2 separate regions of the Homo sapiens genome follow, and region 1 is linked to region 2. Evidence: promoter capture Hi-C in 16 types of primary human blood cells and fetal thymus (Javierre and others, 2016). All regions are on one chromosome and are shown on one strand. Each heading gives the region's core, a stretch centred on a gene start or on the middle of the fragment in contact. The rest is flanking DNA. Distances are from core to core; before and after follow the strand shown. Region 1 has its middle 12 kb from the start of MIR320D2. Region 2 holds the start of LDOC1 (LDOC1 regulator of NFKB signaling).

What was found. The method cuts DNA at HindIII sites, captures the fragments that hold promoters and counts their contacts. A CHiCAGO score of 5 or more calls a contact.
Region 1: a contact is called between a fragment that was not itself captured here and the fragment with the promoter of LDOC1 in region 2, in 1 of 17 cell types (total B cells). The highest score is 5.3, in total B cells.

What each region holds. Positions count from the first base shown.
Region 1 is chrX:140,911,296-140,916,572 of GRCh38, forward strand. No RefSeq gene overlaps it. Among named protein-coding and RNA genes, the nearest start is that of MIR320D2, 12 kb to the right of the region's middle. The HindIII fragment of the contact is 1,749 bases long and covers 2,398-4,146 here.
Region 2 is chrX:141,175,879-141,181,446 of GRCh38, forward strand. It overlaps LDOC1 (LDOC1 regulator of NFKB signaling), which reads right to left and starts at 1,251. Exons shown (of 1, transcript NM_012317.4): 1 at 1-1,251. The coding sequence starts at 1,143. The coding sequence ends at 703. RefSeq lists an enhancer at 316-815. The HindIII fragment of the contact is 16,966 bases long and covers 1-5,568 here.

The DNA.
Region 1 (5,277 bases), core at 2,022-4,521, 260 kb before region 2:
GGCTTATTTTCCATCTTTTGTTCCTTTTTTCTTTCCCCCAGAAGATCTGATAAACTATGCCTCCGGTTTCATCTCTTTTCTCTGTGCCATATTTAACGGAGTTGTTTTGTATTCATATCAAGGCGTGGGAGTGGGGTCCAATGAATTACATTTGGTATTCTAAACATTTAATTTGTTAACTTGTAAGCAAACTTTCAAGAAGTTAAGCTTTCTGTCTCTCAGTTGGGGAGGAGAAAGAATTTCCCTTTTAACTTACTTGTCACTTGAACATCTTCAGGCTATTTGTGAATGCCAAGACCAACCTGTGGGAAATCCTGAAGTTTTGCTGGCTCTCTTTCTCTCAGCAGGGATAGGAAATATATTTCTATATGCCTGACACTTCCTTCAGCTACTAAGAGAGTTGTTTTTGTGTGTGTTATCCAGCATATTTTCAAACTTGAATGGCATACCAAGAAGCCTCGAAATAATAATTTACCTCTTTTCCTTTGTGCATATAGCAAATATTTCTTACTAAGTTGAACACGGAATGTGTAAACTGGAAAATTACACGATAGCAAAATTTAAGTTGAAGAATTAGATGCACTTAAATTACTTAAAGGAATGACCTGGCTAGCAGTTGTTATTAAAGTTGCAGTTCTATTCAACATGGAATATGCTTAATAAAGTCAATATCTCTTTTTAGAAGCATTTTAATTTGCTTTTTTTTTTCTACCTTGAGTAGCTCTGAATCCTCACAGGAAGAAACATTAGGTACTATACATTGCCTCATAAGTCAAGTAGTTACTGTTTGTTGCATTGGTTGAAAATAATGCGGGATTTTCAAGCCAGAATTTAATCAATGTTACCAGGTAATTGTTCTTGTGAGAAAAGGATAAAAAGGATTTTGACTATTTGGGATAAGTTCAAAAAATAATTAAATGGGAAAGAATGACTAGTTACAAGAGTATATAACAATGGTGTCTCAAGCCAGTGTCTATATTTTAGGCAGAATATTAACATGGAATGGCCTCCACCTTGAGCAACTGGGGACCTTCTCAGTGAGAAGAGAGACGGATTGATCAAGAACCATATAGAGGCCTAATAGCCATTGTTCTGGACAGGGAATCTGGGCACCTGAATTTGACTCCCAGTTTCACTCACTTACTGCCTTGCCTAATCATAGACAGGTCACTTATGCTCTTGGAATCTCTATTTCCCCTGGAAATGATTAATACATTGAGTATCATGGGAAATAATAGATATGTGAAAACACCTAGCTCAAATAAAAGCAGGAATCTGAAGGCACTTTGGAAGTCACAAGGTTGTATTACTATCATTACCATCTTTCATGCAGCTGTTTATTACCTACAAAGCACTTTGAGATAATTATCTCCTTTCATATCTAAAACTTCAGCTTATTGTCACATTTTCACATTTTTTCCCTCATGGCTATCCTGAAGGAAGGTATAAGCAAAGAATAATTTGGCTGTTATCTCAAACCTCTTGAGTTTCCTGTTTGTTTTCCTTTGACAGAGAGATAAAGTTTGTTTGTGGTTATTGCAGACATGCCAATTTGATCACTAACTTAGTTGGTCATTAATTTCCATTGTCTGCCAACCACAACTTTTATTAAAACTCACTGCTTTATGCTTTATCTATCTTTAGGGACATTCTGATATTTCTTTCTTAGTGCTGAGAGAGAAGCACTTGACCTTTTAATATGTCCAATATCATACTTGCTACTCTCTGGGAATTTCATAAATGTATGCAACATCATCTCTATTTTTATTAGTAAGAGTCTTCTGTGTGTCGCTGTCTTCTCTGAGGTCATGAATAATCTACATTATATATCCTCTTCCTACAATGACCCTGTTACGCTGCCACGGCCAGGATATACTTTATGCCTTATCTGGCCTTTCTAAATCCTCAAAGGTTTGCTCACATTTATATTACCAAAATTATTCTCACACTAAAATGCTAACACCATGTCCATATCTAATCCGTGACTAAATTGTACTGTTATTGCGAATGTGCCTGGCATCTGCAATCGCTGATACAGTTTAAAAAAATATGACTATCACTTTGCTCCCAATAACAATTTTAGATCTTCTGCAAGGCACATAGCTTTTCTCTATCTGCATGCTAATTATTCAATAAATCAATTTTTTGCCTCCTAAAGTAGTTTGCTTAACAGGAGCAACGTATCATATTTCCATATAAAGTGCTTATAAAAATAAGATGGAATGGAGTGTTTCCAGAGGAGAATGATTATGAGGTTGAGCTTTTCATAGCTACATTATTAATTTATAAAATTATTTCAATATATTTCAAATTGTTAACATTGCACTGAAAGTGTTGTCAGCTACTGGCTGGAACTTGACATAAAATGTCTCATTCATAAAGCAATTTCGTCTCACAAGCTTTTGTTAAAATGGTCATTTATTAAACTCAGAAAAGGGAGATATCTTTTCAGTGTATTCTTTCTTCTTATGTATTTCTTTTGACTGTGTGTCCGTAGATTCAGAAATGTTTTCTCGATGACATGGCATTCTATATTTATTTGCAACAGAGTAAATAATCACCATTTTTGAAGAAAAATAAACTAGCTTGTCTGATTTGGATCTTAAATACAAAGCTCATCAGAAAATGAATTGTTTTCTTTTGCAAGAGCAACAACCAGTCAATCACTTACCGGACCTTTACTGAGCACTCCAGTATTAAAGAGAATATGCTAGGTGCTGGGCTCTATGGGAGACGCAACAAAGTGTGAGATATGGCATATCATAGGCACAAATCTATCTCTATGGGTCTCAGAAATGATTCATAACAAGGATTTATTTTATCATACTTCAATATTCCTTAAGTACCATATCTAAATCATTTTATTTCTGACACCCCATTCCCTTCTGTACATGTGCTTATCTAATATTTGTGCTTCAAGTGCTTTATGTTGAAACAGCTGTTACACAATTTTGCAAAAAGCAAACTGGCTTTAATAAAATCAATTGTTTCTGTGTGATAGAATGAACTTTAAAACTGGGGTAAACACTCAGTCCAACAATGATTTGTAAAGTAGTAGTGTTTTGCATCCAAGTCAATAATTTAGCTCATCCTTAGCTCTAGAAAGGACTGAGGGTCACCTGAGGGTTTGGCAAATCTTTGGTGGTAAGAGTTGGAATGAGAGTCTCAAGGTGAGGGACAATATAGTACATAAAAGCCAAGAGGTAGACATGCTGCTGGGAGAGAAAGAGGCTCATTATGTATAGTAGGAGGAAGATAAATTTTTAGTCAGATGATTGGGGACCTAGTCAGCTGGATTCATTTACTAACACTCTTAAAATTGGAAATTTGTACTTTGAAAATCTTATTTTTCTCTCTATTTGTGTTTTATGTCAATTTAATTTTTATATCCTCATAGCATGCATTAAAACTCTTGAATAAATGCTACCCTGCTCAGCTCTACAAAATGGATTCTTGTCAAAACCCACAGTGGAGTTTTAGTGAGTGAGCCTGGAATGATAGTGACAGTAAGAACCAGAGGGACTGACCCTTGTTAGGAAAATAAAACATGAAGGAACAAAGAAGTTAGTTAGAAGCTGACAGTAGATTCATCCCTTTCATCCTGGAGACTGGGGCACCTTGCTTTGAAATTCAGGGGCATGTGTGTGCTTTGTTTCAAAATGAAGGCCATCTCTTACTTGTGGTAAGGTGTTCTTGGGCTCGGAGCCCAACTTATCTCATTTACTAGGCTCTAGCCTGCACAGGAAAGCTGAGGTTAGATACCAATTACACTTTGGGGACAAAGTGGAGCAAAGATCTGCATATGGTTCATACATTCATTTTTCGTGTAACAACCAAGAAATGTGCCCTTGACTGAGAACAGCACTACTAATAGCCTGCTAGGGAGTTCCAGAATCACTTACCATACACTTAATTTAACAGATATTTATCAAATGTCAGTTCTATGTCAGAACCTTTGCGGGGAACTACAGACCAGGATGAAACAACATCCTTTCAAGGTTGTCAGCGCAAACCTCTATTAAAATACATGTATTATTTGGGATGAAGAATATGTTTCCTATTAACTTACAGCATCTTAACATAAATGAGGTGATTAGTGCCTGGATAAAGCTGTGCCTCAATCAAATAATATATAAAATAAGGAAAAGCTTGTTTGATTAGCTGTGTGTGTGTGTGTGGTGGAGTGGTAGGGTAGGTGGCAGAGAGAATGATATAATCCTGAAGCAGGACCAGCTACATAATTTTTGACGCTTGGTGCAAAATGAAAATTCAGGGTCCCTTGTTCAAGAATCAGAAAAAAGTGATGTTAAAGGTACGAAACTATGAAACTTCTCCCTTTAGAAATATTTTATTACTTATGAAACTTAATAGGGGTAATAGTGACACATGAGTAATGGCATAATCTTTAGAAATGCAAAGAATAATATTTGTTTCATAATTTTATAAATCAGTGCCATAATTTTATATATACAGTGAATAATGACATTTCATTAATGTGACATCTTGATTGAGCACAAGATTCTTCTGGCTCACTTTTCTGCAAATTAATTTATAATATCACCAAAACGTATACTTACAGCAACCTTGTTTTTAGTCAATATAATTGAAAGTACCATCAGTTACTGGTGACAAATGTAAGATTGCAAATCCCCTTTGATATGTTTTAATATTGAGAAGGATTTTTCTGCTCATGCAACTGTAACTGATGCTGTCAAGAGTATTTCTAGAGAAGGACAACATTGGGGTAAGGTTTTAACAAATTATTTTAAAATATAAATTTTATTACATCTAGAGCTGATGATTCTCATGAAACAATTTTTCTAAAAAGATATAACTCTTCATACAAGTCAGTTTCATGTAAGTCAGAATTTAACTTTAAATGTAAATGTAAACAATGGTATTTTAATGTTTATTTGACATTTCCTGCAACTCGTGGAGGTTATATAATTAACCAAAAGTGACTTCATCATTTATAAACCATTCAAAATGCTTGTTTATGCATTCCACCACTCTATCTTCAATTACAAGGAAATGTTAATTTTCAAATTGTCTTCATCTTTAATATTTGGTTCATCCGAAGCTTTATATGAAAATATTTATTTTCTGTTGAATAGGATAATCTTTAAAATTAATTCTTTTCTAAGCCTGTGGATATTTCCTTTGCAAGGCTGCAACAGGTTTCAAACCCAGAAATTCTAAACTCTTTGAAAACTCCAAATAACTCTCTGATATGTTTATTGCAATGTACAATGCATTTTATACTTGTTTTATAGTAAT
Region 2 (5,568 bases), core at 1-2,500:
TGCTGCAATTTTGAAAGAAAAATGACAGCTGTGTAAAACCAGTGCATAGGAAAAAAGAAGTGTCAACAATTTGGCTGCCAGGCACACCGCGCCCCTGCAGCAATCTGGTGGGGCAGGGGAGGACACTCGGAGTAGGTAGAAAACTAACCAGGCTGAACGGCCCCTTCAGGGGTTGGTGAGCTGTCCAAATCAATGTCTGAAAAGGCATAGCCAACTCTGGCATTTTCCAGGTTGGTCCTGATCTCGAAAGGTGGTAGTCTGTAGGTGGGATGTGGTGAGTGGATGTGAAGTGGCAGCATAGTTCTCTGGGAAGATGTAAGCCTGGCAGCAGGGCAGGTGGCAGCAGCAGGGCTACGGGTGGTCTGCGCAGTTTGTAACAGGGGCCTGGCCAATAGCTGGGGTTCAGGACACAGTTCAGATTAGCAGGGGAGGGATCCCGGGGATGGCCAGGGTAGATGACACTTCCAAGCACTTCCGAGTGAGTGAGGCTCCAGCCCCGACCCCAGCAGCAGGTAACTGGAGCGCTATTCCTGGAACAAAGACAAGCACTACGGAGAAATGAAGAGAGAGAGCAGACGGGCGCGGGTAGGTAAGGGGACCGGAGGGCAAGGGGGAGAGCAGTGGCTCCTGGCGGGGTGAGGGCTGCGGGGAGGGGGTGGCGGCGTGCAGGGCCCTCCCCCCCGAGGCCCGAGGGTCGAGGGCCTAATAATCATCCTCCTCTTCTTCGTCGTCGTCGTCTTCGTCGTCATCCCAGCCAAAGCACTGTTTCATCTCATCGAGGAAGGCCCGGTAATCACCTAGGATGGGGCTATCCATCTCGATGTAGGGCACCACCCACTCCTCGGCTTCCCCGGTGAGGAGGCTGATTAGGAATGCCACCTTCATGGCGTCGTTGCAGAATCGGTTCTCGTTCACGAGCATGTAAGACGCCGTCTGCACGATAAACTCGGGGAGCCGGGAGCTCTCGCCATTAAACGTTTCGGGGAAGGGCACCGGGCAGCTCGGCGGACGTACCTGGCGCAGCAGGCTGGCCCTCTCGCACACCAGCAGCCGCAGCTGTTCCATGAGCTGGCTGTTCTCGATGCTCAGGGCGCGGTGCCGCATCAGGAGCGCGTGCAGCAGCAGCACCAACTCATCCACCATTGCGAACGGCCTGGAAGGACAGGACTCGGCTCGGTTCGGCTCGGCCAAGGTGCGCACGGAGCCCTCGCAGGAAGTGCGTGTCCACGGAGGCGCTTGGTGGCCAGGGGCGGGGGGCGGGGGGCGGTGTGCGCCGGGGTCCGGGAGGCTACGCAAGCTCCGCCCACGAGGCCATTCGGACGGACGGTGCGCCGGCGCGACGGGGGAGGGGCGTGGCTAGGCTGGGAGTGGGGGGGCCGCGGCGGCGTGGGGGCGTGGCCGGGATGGGAAGGGTGTAGACAAAGAGGGCGTGGCCAGGAAAAGGATGCGCTGGGTCGCTGAACCACCGGCTTGTGGTAGGTCTCTCGGCGGGCAGTTAAAGGCTGGGATAGGCTCCCCTAGCTCCTAGTTGTGGGGCCTGCGTTAGCAGAGGACTTGGCGAGCGCTGAGTCCGGTCTCAGAGAAGGTAAATTTGTTCAAACTGAAAGGATTAGCCACCCTTCTACCTAGGTAGCTTGCACAACTCAGTGTTCCTTCGTGGGTCTGTGGCCACTAGATTCTCTTGGCTTGATGTTTTATTAACACATTTTCTTTCTTATTTAAATCTCACTCAGAGAAGTATTGACACTGCTGGCTGCCCTGTGGGAGTCACACTTCCTTTTAGAATCATGAAGACCCTCAGGGGGTCCTGCCTTTCATGAAAAAGGTAGTATTTAAACAGTGACTTCTTTAGTAGGGAAATAATATGGTATACACACACACACACACACACACACACACACACACACAAAACCTAAGTAACAAGATATAAAAAAGTTCTGCAAAATCAGCATCCAATAGTCAATTGCAGGCATCCCACATATCTTTGATTCTCTATTTCTTGTCTTGCTATTAGTGCCGTTGGCCACTGGGTATTATTCTGTACTTAAAAATGAACTGTTAAGATGTTTGTGTTTTTAAATAATTTTGTTTTTCTACTTTGAATGGATCCCTGATTCTAGAGCCAACATGAATTGTTGGCTCTGCTTTCAAATATATTGCCAATTCAATCACGTCTTGTCATTTCTGCCACTGCCACCCTGATTCCTAGCCTTTCTTTCTCACCCAGACTGCTGCAACTAATCACTTAGCTTTCACTCTTTTCTTCCTATAGTATATTCTCCATAGAGTAGCCACGGGAATCCTTTAAAACAAAAATTAGGGCCGGGCGCGGTGGCTCACGCCTGTAATCCCAGCACTTTGGGAGGCCGAGGCGGGCGGATCACGAGGTCAGGAGATCGAGACCATCCTGGCTAACAGGGTGAAACCCGTCTCTACTAAAAATACAAAAAATTAGCTGGGCGTGGTGGCGCATGCCCGTAATCCCAGCTACTCGGGAGGCTGAGGCAGGGGAATTGCTTGAACCCTGGAGGCAGAGGTTGCAGTGAGCCGAGATAGCGCCACTGCACTCCAGCCTGGGCTACAGAGCGAGACTCCGTTTCAAAAGAAAAAAAAAAAGATCCCTTCACTCTCCTGCTCAAAATCCTCCAACAGTTTCACCTGAGAATAAAGAGCAAAGTTGCAGCCAAGGCCTACAAGGCCCCTCCTTCTATCCTGTGCCTCTTCCCAGTTTCTGCTGTGCTCTAATCACTGTCCTCCTTGCTGATTCTCACACCCATCAAGCAGTTCTGGCTTCATAGCCTTTGCATCTTCTATTCCTTCTGCCTTGCAAGGCTGTCATCCCAGTTGGCTGCCTGACTCCTCCTACTGCTTTCAGAGAGAACTTTTCTGACCACCGGACCTATCAGAGCACCCTGTTCTCTGCCCCCAATCTGTAACCCTTTACTCTGCTTCATTTATCTACATAACATTTATTGTGCTACCGGCCACCATGTCGTATGTATATACAGTACTTTGCTCATCATCTGCTTCCATTTTAGAATATATAAGTCAAACACTGCTTTTGCTATCTGGTCTATCCCTAATGCCTAGAAAAGTTCTGGCCCAGAGTAGAGGCTTCATTAATGTTTGGCGAGTAAAATCATCCCAGAGTGAAGATGCTGAGATGAAAATCAGAAGTTGTCGCTGCACAAAGAGTCAAAAAATACTCTTCAAATTGTTAAATGTAAGGTTGGGCGTGGTGGCTCATGCCTGTAATCCCAGCACTTTGGGAGGCTGAGGGGGGCAGACCACCTGAGGTCAGGAGTTAAGACCAGGCTGACCAACATGGAGAAACCCTGTCTTTCCAAAAAATACAAAATTAGCCAGGTGTGGTGGTGGGCGCCTGTAATCCCAGCTACTTGGGAGGCTGAGGCAGGAGAATCACTTGAACCTGGGAGGCAGAGGTTGCCTGAGCCGAGATCACGCCATTGTGCTCCAGCCTGGGCAATAAGAGCAAAACACCATCTCAAAAAGAAAAAAAAAAAAGAAAAAAAATTGTTCAGTGTATTTTATCTCTGACCATGGATCAGTCTCGATTGTGAAACAATGACTGATGTAATAAAACTGGCTGAATAGATTTTTAAAGAAATTCGATTCGGTCCTTTAGGATAGAATTGAATGATCATCCATGGAAGTAGGAGGCTGGGAAAGAGCAGAGAAACAGGGCCAAGCCCCAAGCAGGGACACGGGGAAGATCACAGTGGTGAAAGGATAAGCAGTGAAAAAAAGAGATAGGAGGAATGTGAGCTTTTGGCCTCTCCTGTGCTATGAGCTCCGCCACCTGAGAAGTTGGCAGGCAGGGATCCACTCTCACTCTTAATTTTATCTTCAGCACCTGGCAGTGTTTACTAGCTGCTCCGTAAACATTCAGTGTAAGGATTGAGGGGAGGGATGTGAAATGTGGAAAGTAGGTCTCTGGCCATCATGCCCATTTACAGTTCAGAGTACAGGATGGGCCTGACTGGGACAGAGGTAGTGTCCAGCTTCACCTTTCATATCCAGGCCCTAATACAGGAAGAGTACTCAGGGTTCGACTCCTGGGAGCACACTTTCTTTCTTTCTTTTTCTTTTTTTTAGACAGAGTTTTGCTCGTGTTGCCCAGGCTGGAGTGCAATGGCACAATCTCGACTCACTGCAACCTCCGCCTCCCGGGTTCAAGCGATTCTCCTGCTTCAGCCTCCCGAGTAGCTGGGATTACAGGCATGCGCCACCACGCCCAGCTAATTTTATATTTTTAGTAGAGACAGGGTTTTTCCATGTTGGTCAGGCTGGTCTCAAACTCCTGACCTCAGGTGATCCACCCGCCTCGGCCTTCCAAAATGCTGGGATTACAGGCGTGAGCCACCGCGCCCGGCCTAGAGCACACTTTCTGTAGCAGACACTGGGCCAGGTGATTGGCAGGGCTGTCACAATGACTCATACACAAGGACCAGACATGGGAATGGGCATTTTAGAGCCAGAGACCCAGGAGGTAAATATCTAAACCTAATAAAGCAATAGGTTGATGGTGCTATACCTTCATGCCAACCTCTCTAACTCTAAAGCCCGCCCATGCCCTTGCTCTGAATAATTAATATGTGCTGGACCCTTGTGACTTCAGTGGGCCCAGGCAGGTCTAGTGGGGAACCAGAGATGATTAGGCAGATGCTGCCCTAATTTTCTCCCTACAACCCCACAGCAGAGGGATTCAGGGAGGAAACCAGACGAGGCAACCACTATTGTTCCCTCTGAGTGTGCTCTGAGACCCTGGAAGACAGGAAATGTCCTGCCCAGAACTGAGCAGTGACTTTGGGAGGTGCTTCCCTGGTTGGAGAAAGGGAATGGAGACAAGCAGCTTAGCACTGACTCACAACAGAAGCAGTCAGGAAGAGGTATGTAGTATCAGTTGATAGAAGATGTAGAATCTTAATGCTCATTTTAACCAGCTTCCAGGTGCCTGTGAGGCTCTCCCACCAGTGCCAATGCATATCAGCACTTCCTTCTCCATTCACCCTGCTCACAGCTGCATGTCGCCTTCCTCATTTTCTTTCCCCTTCTCGAGTGGCCCTTAAGTGTTCCTTTCCACTTAACGTGAATATGCTGGGGGCAGACACAAGTACTCCCTGTGACAAGTACTCATAGGGAGTACTTGTCTCGGGCCAGTAAAATTTATCAGGACAGCTCTGGGTTGGAACGCCCTAAGGGTGGCTTAGACTCCACCGTTTGGCAAGAGCACAAGTCCAAGGCACTCACTACCACCATGTTTCAGGCTCCAAACCGTGCCCTGGTACACATCAAGCATCCAGACTGTAAAATTCTCTTGAACATGAAAATTTCCCATGATTCTTGAGCCACCAGATGAGTGTGCACACATCGACTGGGTGAACTAACTCAGCACTCAAATATACAGCCAGGAACAGAAACAGCTTCGGAAAGAATATTTGTGAGAGGACTGCATGAATGCTGCCAAGAGCCAGATCTCTTCCCACATAGACTTCCCCCATCCCCCTTCTTAGCCAGGTGCACCTGGGACTGCTTTTTACAGAAACC